Linked DNA regions of Homo sapiens: region 2 is linked to region 1. Evidence: promoter capture Hi-C in 16 types of primary human blood cells and fetal thymus (Javierre and others, 2016). All regions are on one chromosome and are shown on one strand. Each heading gives the region's core, a stretch centred on a gene start or on the middle of the fragment in contact. The rest is flanking DNA. Distances are from core to core; before and after follow the strand shown.

The links. The method cuts DNA at HindIII sites, captures the fragments that hold promoters and counts their contacts. A CHiCAGO score of 5 or more calls a contact.
Region 2: a fragment that was not itself captured here is called in contact with the fragment with the promoter of MTERF2 in region 1 in 1 of 17 cell types (M1 macrophages); the score reaches 6.0 in M1 macrophages.

Annotation. Positions count from the first base shown.
Region 1 is chr12:106,984,465-106,990,676 of GRCh38, reverse strand. MTERF2 (mitochondrial transcription termination factor 2) reads left to right here and starts at 3,531. Exons shown (of 3, transcript NM_001033050.3): 1 at 3,531-3,708; 2 at 5,452-5,562. The HindIII fragment of the contact is 15,581 bases long and covers 2,047-6,212 here.
Region 2 is chr12:106,485,269-106,491,044 of GRCh38, reverse strand. All of the region lies in intron 23 of POLR3B (RNA polymerase III subunit B), which reads right to left. Among named protein-coding and RNA genes, the nearest start is that of RFX4, 95 kb to the left of the region's middle. RefSeq lists an enhancer at 1-156. The HindIII fragment of the contact is 1,625 bases long and covers 1,858-3,482 here.

The DNA.
Region 1 (6,212 bases), core at 2,282-4,781:
AACATTTTAGATGATATGCATTTTTAAAAATATCCTGGATAGTGAATTAACAATGATCAATAAATTCCATTACTGAGGCTAGGTGTGGTGGCTCACGCCTATAATCCCAGCACTTTTGGAGGCTGAGGTGGGAGGATCACTGAAGCCCAGGAGGTCAAGGCTGCAGTGAGCTATGATTGTGCCACTGTACTCCAGCCTGGGTGGACAGATCAAGACCTCATCTGAGCTGGGTGTGGTGGCTCATTGCCTGTAATCCCAGCACTTTGTGGGGTTGAGGCGGGAGGATCACTTAAAGCCAGGAGTTTGAGACCAGCCCTGGAGACTTAGCAAGACCCCATCTCTATTTTTAAAAAATCAATATAAAAATAAAAAAAAAGTAAAGAAGACCAGGCAGGGTGGCTCATGCCTATAATTCTAGCACTTTGGGAAACTGAAGTGAAGCAGGAGAATCACTTGAGGCATGAACCCAGGAGGCGGAGTTTGCAGTGAGCCGAGATCACATCACTGCACTCCAGCCTGGGCGACAGAGTGAGACTCTGTCTCAAAAAAAAAAAAATGATTAGCCTGAACAACATCTTGGGACCCCATCTCTACAAAAGGAAACAACAAAAATATTAGCCAGGTGTGGTGGTGTGCACTATGGTCCCAGCTACTTGGGAGGCTGAGGTGGGAGGATGGCTTGATCTAGGGGATTTGAGGCTGCAGTGAGCTATGATTGCACCACTGCACTCCAACCTGGATGACAGGGTGAGACCTTGTCTCGGGGATGGGGCGGCAGGTGGGAAATCCATTACCGAGAAAAAGAATAAGAAAAAATCCTGTGCTTTATCGTTCTTTTTTCACCACTGTTAAAGTGAAGTAATATTTTAATTGTTTTTTATGGTAAGTGTACCTCACATCCTACTCTTTGGACCTGGTTGTACAGTGCAGAGTTGAGAAATTCATAGACCTGAGATTTACCATCACCGTACAAGAGGTCATAGATTTCAGTTTTCTTGTTGTTATTTTGAGACAGAGTCTCACTCTGTCGCCCAGGCTGGAGTGCAGTGGCACGATCTCGGCTCACTGCGGCATCTGCCTCCTGGGTTCAAGCGATTCTCCTGCCTCAGCCTCCCGAGTAGTTGGGACTACAGGCGCGTGCCATCACGCCCGGCTAATTTTTTGTATTTTTTAGTAGAGACAGGGTTTCACCGTTAGCCAGAATGGTCGCGATCTCCTGACCTCATGATCCGCTGGCCTCGGCCTCCCAAAGTGCTGGGATTACAGGCATGAGCCACCGCGCACGGCCAAAGATTCAGTTTTAATGTGAATAAATAAACAGTAAAAGAACACTATCTCAGCATAAGCACTGGTATGCTATTTATAAATGTAAGAGGATTTTTTTTTTATTAGGGAGTTTTTTGGAAAGCTTTTTCAGTTTGGTGTAAATAGTGGTCAAAATGAATCACTGAAAGGGAAAGAAAAGGCATCAGTCATCATGCTCTACTTGAGCAGATACATGATGTTCGAATCAGTGTTCTCCCCTTAACTAGAAATCCTACTTGTGGTTAAGGGATTTAAGACATTTTACTCATTCAGCAAATACTTCTTCAATTCTTATTGCCAAAAACTGTACTGACAACTTGGGAAAATTATATTGAGAGAACCAGGGTTTTGAATGAACTGTACAAAGTCCTTATGTTTTTCATATTTGCTTAAAATAAATAAGTAAATTTGAGATATAAAAGTCTATCAGTATTTTTAATGCATCTCTTACATACTAGAAATTTCAGGATCTTCTCACAATTCAAATGTGTTTGTAATTTTCTTGTACATAATATGCATAATTGTAAGTTCTTTTCCCCTTTTCTTCATTCAAGGTTTTTTTTCTGATTATATGGTCCTAGAAATGCACTGTTTAAATATTTGGGCTGGAAAAAACTTTGAGTAGCATTTATTTAATACAGTTGGCATAGCTGATTTGTCAGTTTCAAGTTTTGATTACAATGCACGGGGTCATATGTATTGTAATTCCTTGCACAATTACGTGGAGCCCTAATACAAGCTTCCAGCACCCTGGTGCACATTTCTGCTCCCTCCCTCCTGACCAGTGATGGCAGCTTGCAGTTCTAAGTCCTGAGTTTACATTCCTTAACTTCCTTTTCTGTATCCTAATTTCCTTTTCCTAAGTGCAAATGACACACTTTGGTTAGTCTGGACCCCAAATCATTTTATTTCAGGAAAAAGTGTGCAATAAATCTATGCATAATAGAGTTTTTATATTCGGATAACTCAGGAGTTGCTGGACAAACACCCCCCAGCTGTACACATGAGTTGCTCAGATCATTCTAGAATATCCTAGAGATCAGAGGTGGGTGATCTTGAGGAGCCAGGATTCTTGCTGCTACTCAGTGGAGTTAAATGCACGTGTGAGCTCCTCTCAATATAGCCTGTTGAGCCTAAACTGCATAGTGAGACTAGACTCAAAGATTTAGTTAACATTTCCTGAGTTCCTACTGTGTGCCCAGCATTGTTGACAGAAAAAATAATCAGTAGCCTCAAGGAATTCACTCCACAGGGTGCGAGGGCAGTCTGTATGCCAGTGCCACCGACGGCAGAACTGTGCACAGTGTGCTACGAACACCTGACAGCAGACACCTCCAGCTGGGAAAACCAGTTTTCCTGACTCCAACTCCACACAAACAGAATCACCAGGCCCAGCTCAGGGCACCCTGTCCTCGATAACACTTAACTAGGTGTGATTAGTCACGTTATTAGTTGTTGATATCTCTGCCCTCCACTAGAATGTAAGCTCCATAAGGACAGGGAATGTGTTTTATTCCCCCTCTATTTTCTCATTGCTGTTTCAATATGCTTGGCACTTAGCAGGCCTGCCATAAATACTTGTTTTTTGGATGGATAAATGTGAAAATAAATGAGAGAGACATTCAGCCTGGCTTTAAGGAGAAATTAACGTGTTTAGTGTATGAGGTTGGGCATCACCGGTAATAATTAGAATGGAAACCACTTGGCAGTTTATCAGAAAAGGGGAGTATTTAGGTGAAGGTGGCAAGGAGGGAGAGAAAGGAGAATGGCTTTTAAAGACAGTCGCTAACTGCTGGGGTAGGGTGGGGGCGGGGAAGAGTTCAGATGTGTTTCAAAGAACTTTGGGGGTTTTTTAAACATTTCTTTTGTAAGTTGGTTCTTTACCTAACTGAATTATTTTGGGAACAGTGATTGGCTCTATCTTAAAGATATAGCGGTTTCTGTTACTTCTTTTTTTTCTTATATTTTCTAAGCGTCAAAGCTACTGGAACTCCGCTTCCTAAAATGCTGGGAAGGAAAGGGTGTGAAAATGCCAGATGCCCCCGCCAGCACAGGCTGGGCTGCCTGGAAAGCCGATTCCCACTCCGACTCGCCCTCGTGGTGCGGGGAGGGACGCGTAGTTGTGTCCCGCGCTCTGACTGGCTGCGTTGGGACGCGGGGGCGTGTCTTGGGGGGGCGGGGGTTGGCGGTCATCTCCCGAGCCCTGATTGGCCATGGGCGAAGGGACTGATGGCCTGGTTGGCGCTGCTGAGAACTGTCGGGAGCTTCTTGAGACCGAGGACCGAAATCCCGGCTCCAGGCCTCGGGGACTGCGGACTGTGGGGAGGCTGGCCGGAGAGAGAGGGAAGGACGGGGCCTGGCCCCCGGGACTCCCTGTGCCTTGCTTGGAGCTGACGCCGACGGGTGAGTCGCCCCCTTCCTCTGCTCCTGGGCGTGTTCCTCACCAGCGGCGCCGCAGCGGTCAGGGCCCGCAAAACCCCACGCCTCGCCAGACGCTCAGCTCAGCCTGCCGGGTTTCTCTGGAAAAGCGGAGGCCCCACAGTGAATGTGCGGCCTTTTGATCGGTCCTGGAGATCTTCCGTGGACCCTCGTTTTTCCTTGCTTATAAACGTTGGTCAATTTGAAACTGGCAGCAGGGCATATGTGTTACGAAAGAAGAACTTTATTGAAACCAGTGGTGGTGTAGAGAAGACCATACTAACCATAACTGTGTATTACAGAAGTGAATTTCACTCCCCAAAAATGCTTAAGAAACAAGCATCCTAGAACAGCCCACATTGTGATTTAACAAACATTTACCAAAAGCATTGCTATATGTGGGGGCACAGGGCTAAGAGCAGGCAGGACTCTGGAGCCAACCTGTGGGGTTTGAGTCCAAATTCTGCCGGTTTTTTGTTTTTTGTTTTTTTTTTTAGCTGAGTAACCTTGGGCAAGTTCCTTTACCTGCGTCTGTTTCCTCATTTTAAAATGAGTTGTTGTGATGATTTAATGATTTAGTATATGTGAAGAGTTTTCTGCATATTCTAAGTGATTTATGGTATTAACTCGTTTGATCTTTGCAGTCACCCAGGAGATAGTATCACCATTTTCCTGATGCCAAACTGAGGCTCAGAGAGGTGAAGTAACTTCTTCAAGTCACAACACAACTGTTGTCCAGGAATCAGGCAGTCTGGCTCTGCTAACCCAGTTTTACCCACTGCATTAATGTACCGCATCCACTTGTTCACTCAGTTTCACCTGACAAATACTAATTTTGTCTCTCTGTGGAACAAGTTCTTTGCTGGGTGCAGGGAATAAAGCAGAACACCGTTCAGTTCCTGCCTTCCCAACGCTTGTAAATCTAGTGCAGGTCATTCATGGCCGGGCTGCAGGGTGTCCATGAATCCTGCTAAAATCATTTGCGAAATGTTGTGAGCGTGGGTCTTTTCTTCTGGAAAGAGAGTCTGTGACTCTCAGGTTCTGAGTTGATCTGTGATCCAAACAGAGGTGTGAAGAAGTGTTGTTTTAGCAGATCTGTGCCTAGTATGCCTGATACACAGCTTGAACTTCAAACAAACAGCAACAAAATTCCTACTGGTTGGAAGAATGAAGAACTTGTAAGAGCATAATAAGTGCTGCAGTAGCGTCCGGAGCAGGGTGCTGTGGAAGAGCACACAGAAGGCCACCTGCCCAGGAATGCCTCCTAGAGGCAGTGAAGGCAGCTGGGTGAAGGATAGGGAAGCAGTTCATTGGAACACTGTGGTGACCAGTCTGTCCATGTAGTGTTGAGACAGAAACAACACGTGAACAGCTGCAGCTGTTGTACCACTTGTGCGCAAGTGTAAAAGTCCATGGTGCCATGAAATCATGTAATGGGGACAGGAGGCTTCATGTATTCGTGAAGGTTAGAAAAGTTTCCTTGAGAAAGTGACACTTAGGCCTAAAAGTTGGAGCATTTTGGGCATGGAATCTGGCCCACAGTCTTCAAAGACCACATGGTAGAAACCAGTAGAGCACCAGGGACTGACAGGAAGCAAATGCAGCTGGTGCAGGAGAGGGAAATGGGAATTAGGGTGGTGGCAGAGCCCAAAGAGGCCTTGTAGGCCATGGTAAGGCATTTCTATGTTTTATTTTACTTTGTCTTTATCCTAAAATGCCATTGGCAAGTTTATTGCAGGGAACTGACAAGATCACATTTTGAGAAGAAGTTGGAAAGAATCCCAAGTGGATGAACTGAATATCTGGATGAGGACAAGATCTGTGGGGAGAGACTGTAAGGTAAGAAGAAGAGAGGTCTAGAACCAAGCCTTGAAGGTGAGCTTGTATGGGAGACAGATAGAGGGTGGCGAGAAGTATAGAAAGGGAGAAGAATCAAAAAAAGTCGAGTGTCCAGGAAGTCAAATGAGAGAATATTTCAAGGAGAAAGTGGTCAACTCTGCTAAAAGCTGCAGAAGTCAAAAGAGATAAGGAAGGCTGGGTGTGGTGGCTCATGGCTTGTATTAGTCCTTTTTCATGCTGCTGATAAAGACATAGCCAAGACTGGGCAATTTACAAAAGCAAGAGGTTTAATGGACTTACAGTGCCACGTGGTTGGGGAGACCTCACAATCATGGCGGAAGGTGAAAGGCACATCTCACATCGTGGCAGACAAGAAAAGAGTGAGAGCCAAGCGAAAGGGGTTTCCCCTTATAAAACCATCAGATCTCATGAGACTTATTCACTGTCATGAGAACAGTATGGGGGAAACCACCCCTATGATTTAATTATCTCCCACTGGGTTCCTCCCACAACACAAGGGAATTATGGGAGCTACAATTCAAGATGAGATTTGGGTGGGGACACAGCCAAACCACATCACGCCTGTAATCGACACTTTGGGATGCCAAGGTGGGCAGATCGCTTGAGCTCAGGAGTTCAAGAGCAGCCTG
Region 2 (5,776 bases), core at 1,421-3,920, 500 kb after region 1:
GAAGGAGCAGTTGCAGTTGCACTAACTTTGGCTGGAGAGGCAGAAAAGCAGCTCATTCCTTCCTGGGTTGTGCAGGTCATTTAACATCATCAAGACACTGTCTCCTGATAACTTTCACGAGGCCTGGGGTTGCAGATATCTATTGGGGAATAGTTTACTGCTGATGAATATGGTGGTAAATGGGGCCAAAGAAGCAGTAGGAATGCTTTCAAGTTTGACTGTTCCTATTAAGACATGGTTTGCTTTGAGTAAACTCATCTCAATGAGCCTTTATACATTCAGAAATGAAATCTCTAAATCAAAATGTTAAGGCTAACACAGGTGGTTATTCCGTTCTTCCCCTCCCCTTTTCCAGCTATCGAATTAACCTCCTTTTATTTTTCACACCACCACCTTAAATAATCCCCAGAGGGAGGGGAGTAGACAAAAACTGTTGAATCATATTGGCTTTGTTCTGTTGTTGAATCATTTCCAGATCTATCACATCACTTGCCATATACCGGTTGACATAATTTTAATTCGGCTCTTCCTTACATGTTAACAGATAAATAATGCATAAGAAAACTTGATTAGCTTTCTTATTAAAACATCACTCTAAATGAGAGGAGGCGCTAGAAGACAATACAGTTTTTACACGGCTTTCCCATGAGCAGTTGAATGGTTTGATGTGATAAATTTGCATAGTCTGAAGCGCACAAAGGGCTGATTAATTGAAACCCTTACAATGCTTTTGCAAGCAACTATTGTAAAACAATAACCATAGGAACTTTACAAAATACACACGGCTGAATGTGTCAAGAGCTTAATAAAATGTGTTGAGGCTACACTATTTGGAAACAGAATTGGAGATTTTTATTCTGGGCCATAAAACACTAAATACCCTAATTTCAAAGCTTTAGTTGGATATTTACTGAAAGGTCAGAGGGTTACTGGCGAGCTACTGAAGACCAAAATTTGTTCCTAAAAAAGTCAATTCCATAAAATCTTCTTCCAATAAGGTATCTGTGTGGACGAAGAAACCCTGATTTAATAACATTAAAGTAAGAGCTGCTGGAGTTTTGGTTTTGGACTGAAACTCTGATGGATCATTTGGCATCATACACCTTATGATGGGGCTCATACGGATAGCCCTACCAGCCTCCTTCTCCCCTCCCACTTAGAAACTTCCATTCAAGCAGGATCAAGCAAAGCAGACAGCCAAAGCTATCCAGACTGTTTAAAGCTGTGGACTTGCAGAGAGGATTTTAGACAGTCTCAAGTACTACACGAGTACAAGGTGTTATTATTATTACTTTAAATCAGGTTCTTTTCACTGTCTCAATTTTAGAAAGCATAATACAGAAAAAAGGACTAACAAATGAAGGTCTAGCAAAACCAAACCTTGTTTAACAGATAAACTTTCTCCTTGGCTTTTCTATCACACATGAATTACCATTTTCTTACTTCCCACAAGCCTCTTTATATCTACTGTAAAAAGATTCTTTAATGTGTTGGAAAGTCAGGGCAGGTTTTCTTTTCTTCTAAGAAACATTCAATCAAAATCTTAATAAATTAATTCTGCAGGTTATTGAATAACTTATTAGTGCAAAATGGAAGCAAGTGACCTTATAATGGAACTTTTCTTGTATAAGAGAGGGTCAATGATGAATCTTCCAAACGATTTTATCCATATACGCATAATCCTTATCAACCACAGATAGGCAGACTAAACCATTAAGTGAAAAAACTATATTTTGATAAGACTAGACTTCTATTGTAAAACAAAAGTTGACTTCACTCCATTTAAACTAGCTGTCTGGTCCTTAAGGATTTAGGGAGCGTATGCCATTATCTCAGATTTGCAGTTATTAAAAAGCTTCTATTTGCCAGGACAAACACTCTTGCTCAAATACAGTTTTTCCTCTCCTTAGGAGTACTGCTTGGTATTGCTGCCCGATGCTGTGATCCACAGGACCTTTGTTGGAGGTGCTAATCCTTTTTCACATGAGAGACTGAGAAATGTTCTTTCAGGGAAGTGATATATTGCTTTTTTTTTCTCTCCACATCAAAGGAGTCCGCTTTTTCCTCCTTCATTGTGAATGGCAGCAAAAGAAGAGGAAATCTGGAAATATAATAATTTGGTTTGCCTGAACACTGAAATGGAACTTGAGAATTCCTTGGGCTGTCAGATAATTTTTGTTAAAGATTTTTTTTAAAAGGAGTAGTTAATCTTCTAATAAATGCACTAATCATCAGAGAAAACAAGGCTCAAGATAAAAATATTTGCCCTTGATGAGTTCCCTCCATTAGAATTTATAACACAGTTGAAGAGGCTTACATGTGTTATTTTGATTTTAATAGAAAGTCTAATTCCAAACATAATTTCAATCAGCATATGTGAATGTCTCTTCCTATCTTTATCTATAAAAATGATTAGAATATACAGCAACACATAGAACATTCCACACCCATGTTCAGCTCTGTTTTCCCTTTGGAACATCATTATGCCTCAACCAGATAAGTCATGGCTTCACTCGAAAATACCTAGAAGTCTAGACCACTTGGGAAATGAGCTCAAGACTTCAGGGTTTACATATTTCTCCCCAAATGAATTTAAAACAAAACTAAACTTTCCTGCCTTCATAAATAAACAAAAGACAAATTCACAACTTTGATGTATAGAAGGTTATTACTAAATCATTTCACCTTGGCCAGCATTTTGCATACTACTAAAGGATGAACGGCTCTAGAGATTCTTAATCAAAGGTCCAGCTCTTTTGGGGGGATGCAGACTCACTGCACATTTACTGATAAGATATATAACTGACCTCACAATGCCCAAAGGAAGGTTGTACTTCATTAAGATTCTTTGAATGTCTCAGTAGAAGACTGTATTGAAATGTCCTCATCTAAAAAGTACACTGTGAGTGAATCCTGCCTGCTTCTGAGCCCACAGTAGTCTATGTTAATTGTGATGCCACCTTCTTTACAAAACATGGTTCCTCATTACTTGGTTCTCTGCTTAGTCCTCCTCCACTTTTGAGGTTACAGAAGGTGATGTTGCTTATTGGGTCTGTCACCTCTGTATCTGATAAAACATTTTCACTTCTCCAGTGGGCCTCCTCTGACCAACTGCATTCAATCTTTGCTTATCATGCAGCACTGATGTTGATTCCCAACTACTCAGTATTGACTCGCTTATTCCAGCTGACCCACGCATTCTGCCCCCTTCAGTCTTCTCCATGAGCTCTGTGATCACATGCAGCACATAACTACCACTGTTCCGCTTCCTCTTTATGTTTGTTTCATTTAGCTACTAATTATCCTACCACCTTTGAAGCGATCAGGCTTGAGCGGGACAGATGCACATGTTCTGTGAAACTAAATTTTCAAGTCTCCTTTAATTGTTAGGATATCTGAAGAGGCATTGGGCACCGAAATGTGATCTACACACAATTCATATACAGAAAGAATCCCTAACAACAGCTTTGTCGAAGTAAGCTTTTAAGAAAAGACAAAAATCAGACAATCTGCAGGGCCATGTTACTTTCTGAACACCCAGAACAATACATTTAATGCTCTAAATGGAGAGAGAAAAATAATATGCACAAAGGTATACTAAATCAAAAGAATTTTTAAATTTTCTCATAGATAATATGTATGTGTCAACTTGCAGGAGATACTACAAAAGAAAAAACAGGATTTCCAAACAATTCTACATCTCAGGATTAAAAACTAAGTTCAACTAACCACTGCTCTTATTCTGGCATGTATCTGGACCAAAACAGAAACAAACAAACAAACAAACCTCTGCAGGAATCGTGGTGTGACACATATACCCTGAAAACTCAACACTTTGAAATTTTTATCAGCTCATTTCATGACAACTACAAATAGCATAACTGATGTTGTGGACTACATTTTCTGTTTCACTCACATTTTACTTGCCAATATCCAACTCCTTTAGGCCTGATGCAGTCCCCCTTAGGGCCCACACTAAGCGCTGGGTTATTGTGTGGCTCCTTACAGACACCTGCCATCTGTGCCTGGCATGTGAAGGTTCCAAGTGCACTAACTGTAAACACTGTGGCCAAAACATTTTCTTCAAGTGCCCTCTTTTTGTGGCTTTTACTGTCACATCTAGCCAAATAAATTGGGAGAACTGTCAAAGTTGAGGGCTCAGAAATTTACTTCCTTTTACATCTGTTTGAAATCCTGATAGATTCTGAATTTTACACAAGGCCACTAAAGCCTGACCAGAGGACCCGTTAAAGAAGGGAGTGGGGATAGTGTTTTACAATAAGCTGATTTTAGAAGGAAAGGGACACCAGAAAATACAGCTTTATTTTAGGAGTACATCTTAATATGGGGCTTTGGCAGGCATTTGTGCGACATGCTGTATGAGGGTAGTATTTATTCTGGATTTGTGGCAGCTGTAAAGCTGCTTATCCAGGAAGAATGGGAATTTTGAGAAGATGCCCATCTTAAGGAGGAGACAGAAAATAATACTAAAAAACAGCAGGATTCATCCTCAGAAAAGGTAGTGTCTTTCCAACGAGAAATCTCTGGGAATATGGCAATCTCAGGAGCAGAGTAAGATACAAGAAGAGAAAAGAGCCACCTTTAACCAGATTTAACCAAATGAGCCATATGCTTGGAATCAAAATCCTGGATTCAAATGTGGGCTCTGCCAGCACCAAGCTGTAGGAGGCATGCTACTCACCTCCCCTGAACCTCAATCTCCTTACTCTTTTTTTTTTTTTTTTTTTTTTTTTTTTGAGACGGAGTCTCCCTCTGACCCCAGGCTGGAGTGCAGTGGCCCAATCTAGGCTCGCTGCAAGCTCCGCCTCCCAGGTTCACATCATTCTCCTGCCTCAGTCTCCCGAGTAGCTGGGACTACAGGCACCTGCCATCACGCCCAACTAATTTTTTGTATTTTTAGTAGAGATGGGGTTTCACCATGTTAGCCAGGACGGTCTCGATCTCTTGACCTCGTGATCTGCCCGCCTCGGCCTCCCAAAGTGCTGGGATTACAGGCGTGAGCCACCGCGCCTGGCCAATCTCCTTACTCTTTATAGTAGGAATAACAACACAAACTGGAACTGTACCAGTTAAAGGATGAAATATAGATAAAAGTGCTTATAAATGATCAATACACAAAAAGTAAAATACTATAAATGTGGAGATAAACAGCATGCAAATGATTCCTCAATTTTTTCTCTAGCCCAAATCTCTCCCTGGAGCTCTAGACTCTATAACCAATTGCCAGCCTATATCTTCACTTGGAGTCTAATCATCTCAACCTGAGGCCCAAACTCTCAACCTCTGCCCTTGTCTAATGCCAAAAAACTATTCTTTACCCAATTGCTCCCATCTTGGTAAACAGCATTATCAGTTGCTCAGGCCACAAACTTCATCCTCAACTCCTGTCTTTTCCTCTTGCAACATCCATCCAAGCCATAAGCAAGTCCTGTTGGCTCTATCTCCAGAGTATGTCCAGAATCCAGTCACTTCTCTCTATTTTTCCACTGCTGCTGTCCTAGTCCAAGCCACCACCCTTTCTTGCCTGGACCACTGCAATGGTCTCCCTGCCCCCTTCCTTGCCCGTTCCAATCCACTTTTCATATAGAATCCACAGTGAGCTCTAGAAGTTGTAAGTTAGATCTCGTCACTCCTTTGCTTATATTCATTTTTATGGTTTGTATGTACCCACAAAAACTCATGTTGAGATTTAATTGATATGGGGCCTTTAAGAGGTGGTTAGGTCATAAGGACTCCATTCCCATGAATGGATTAA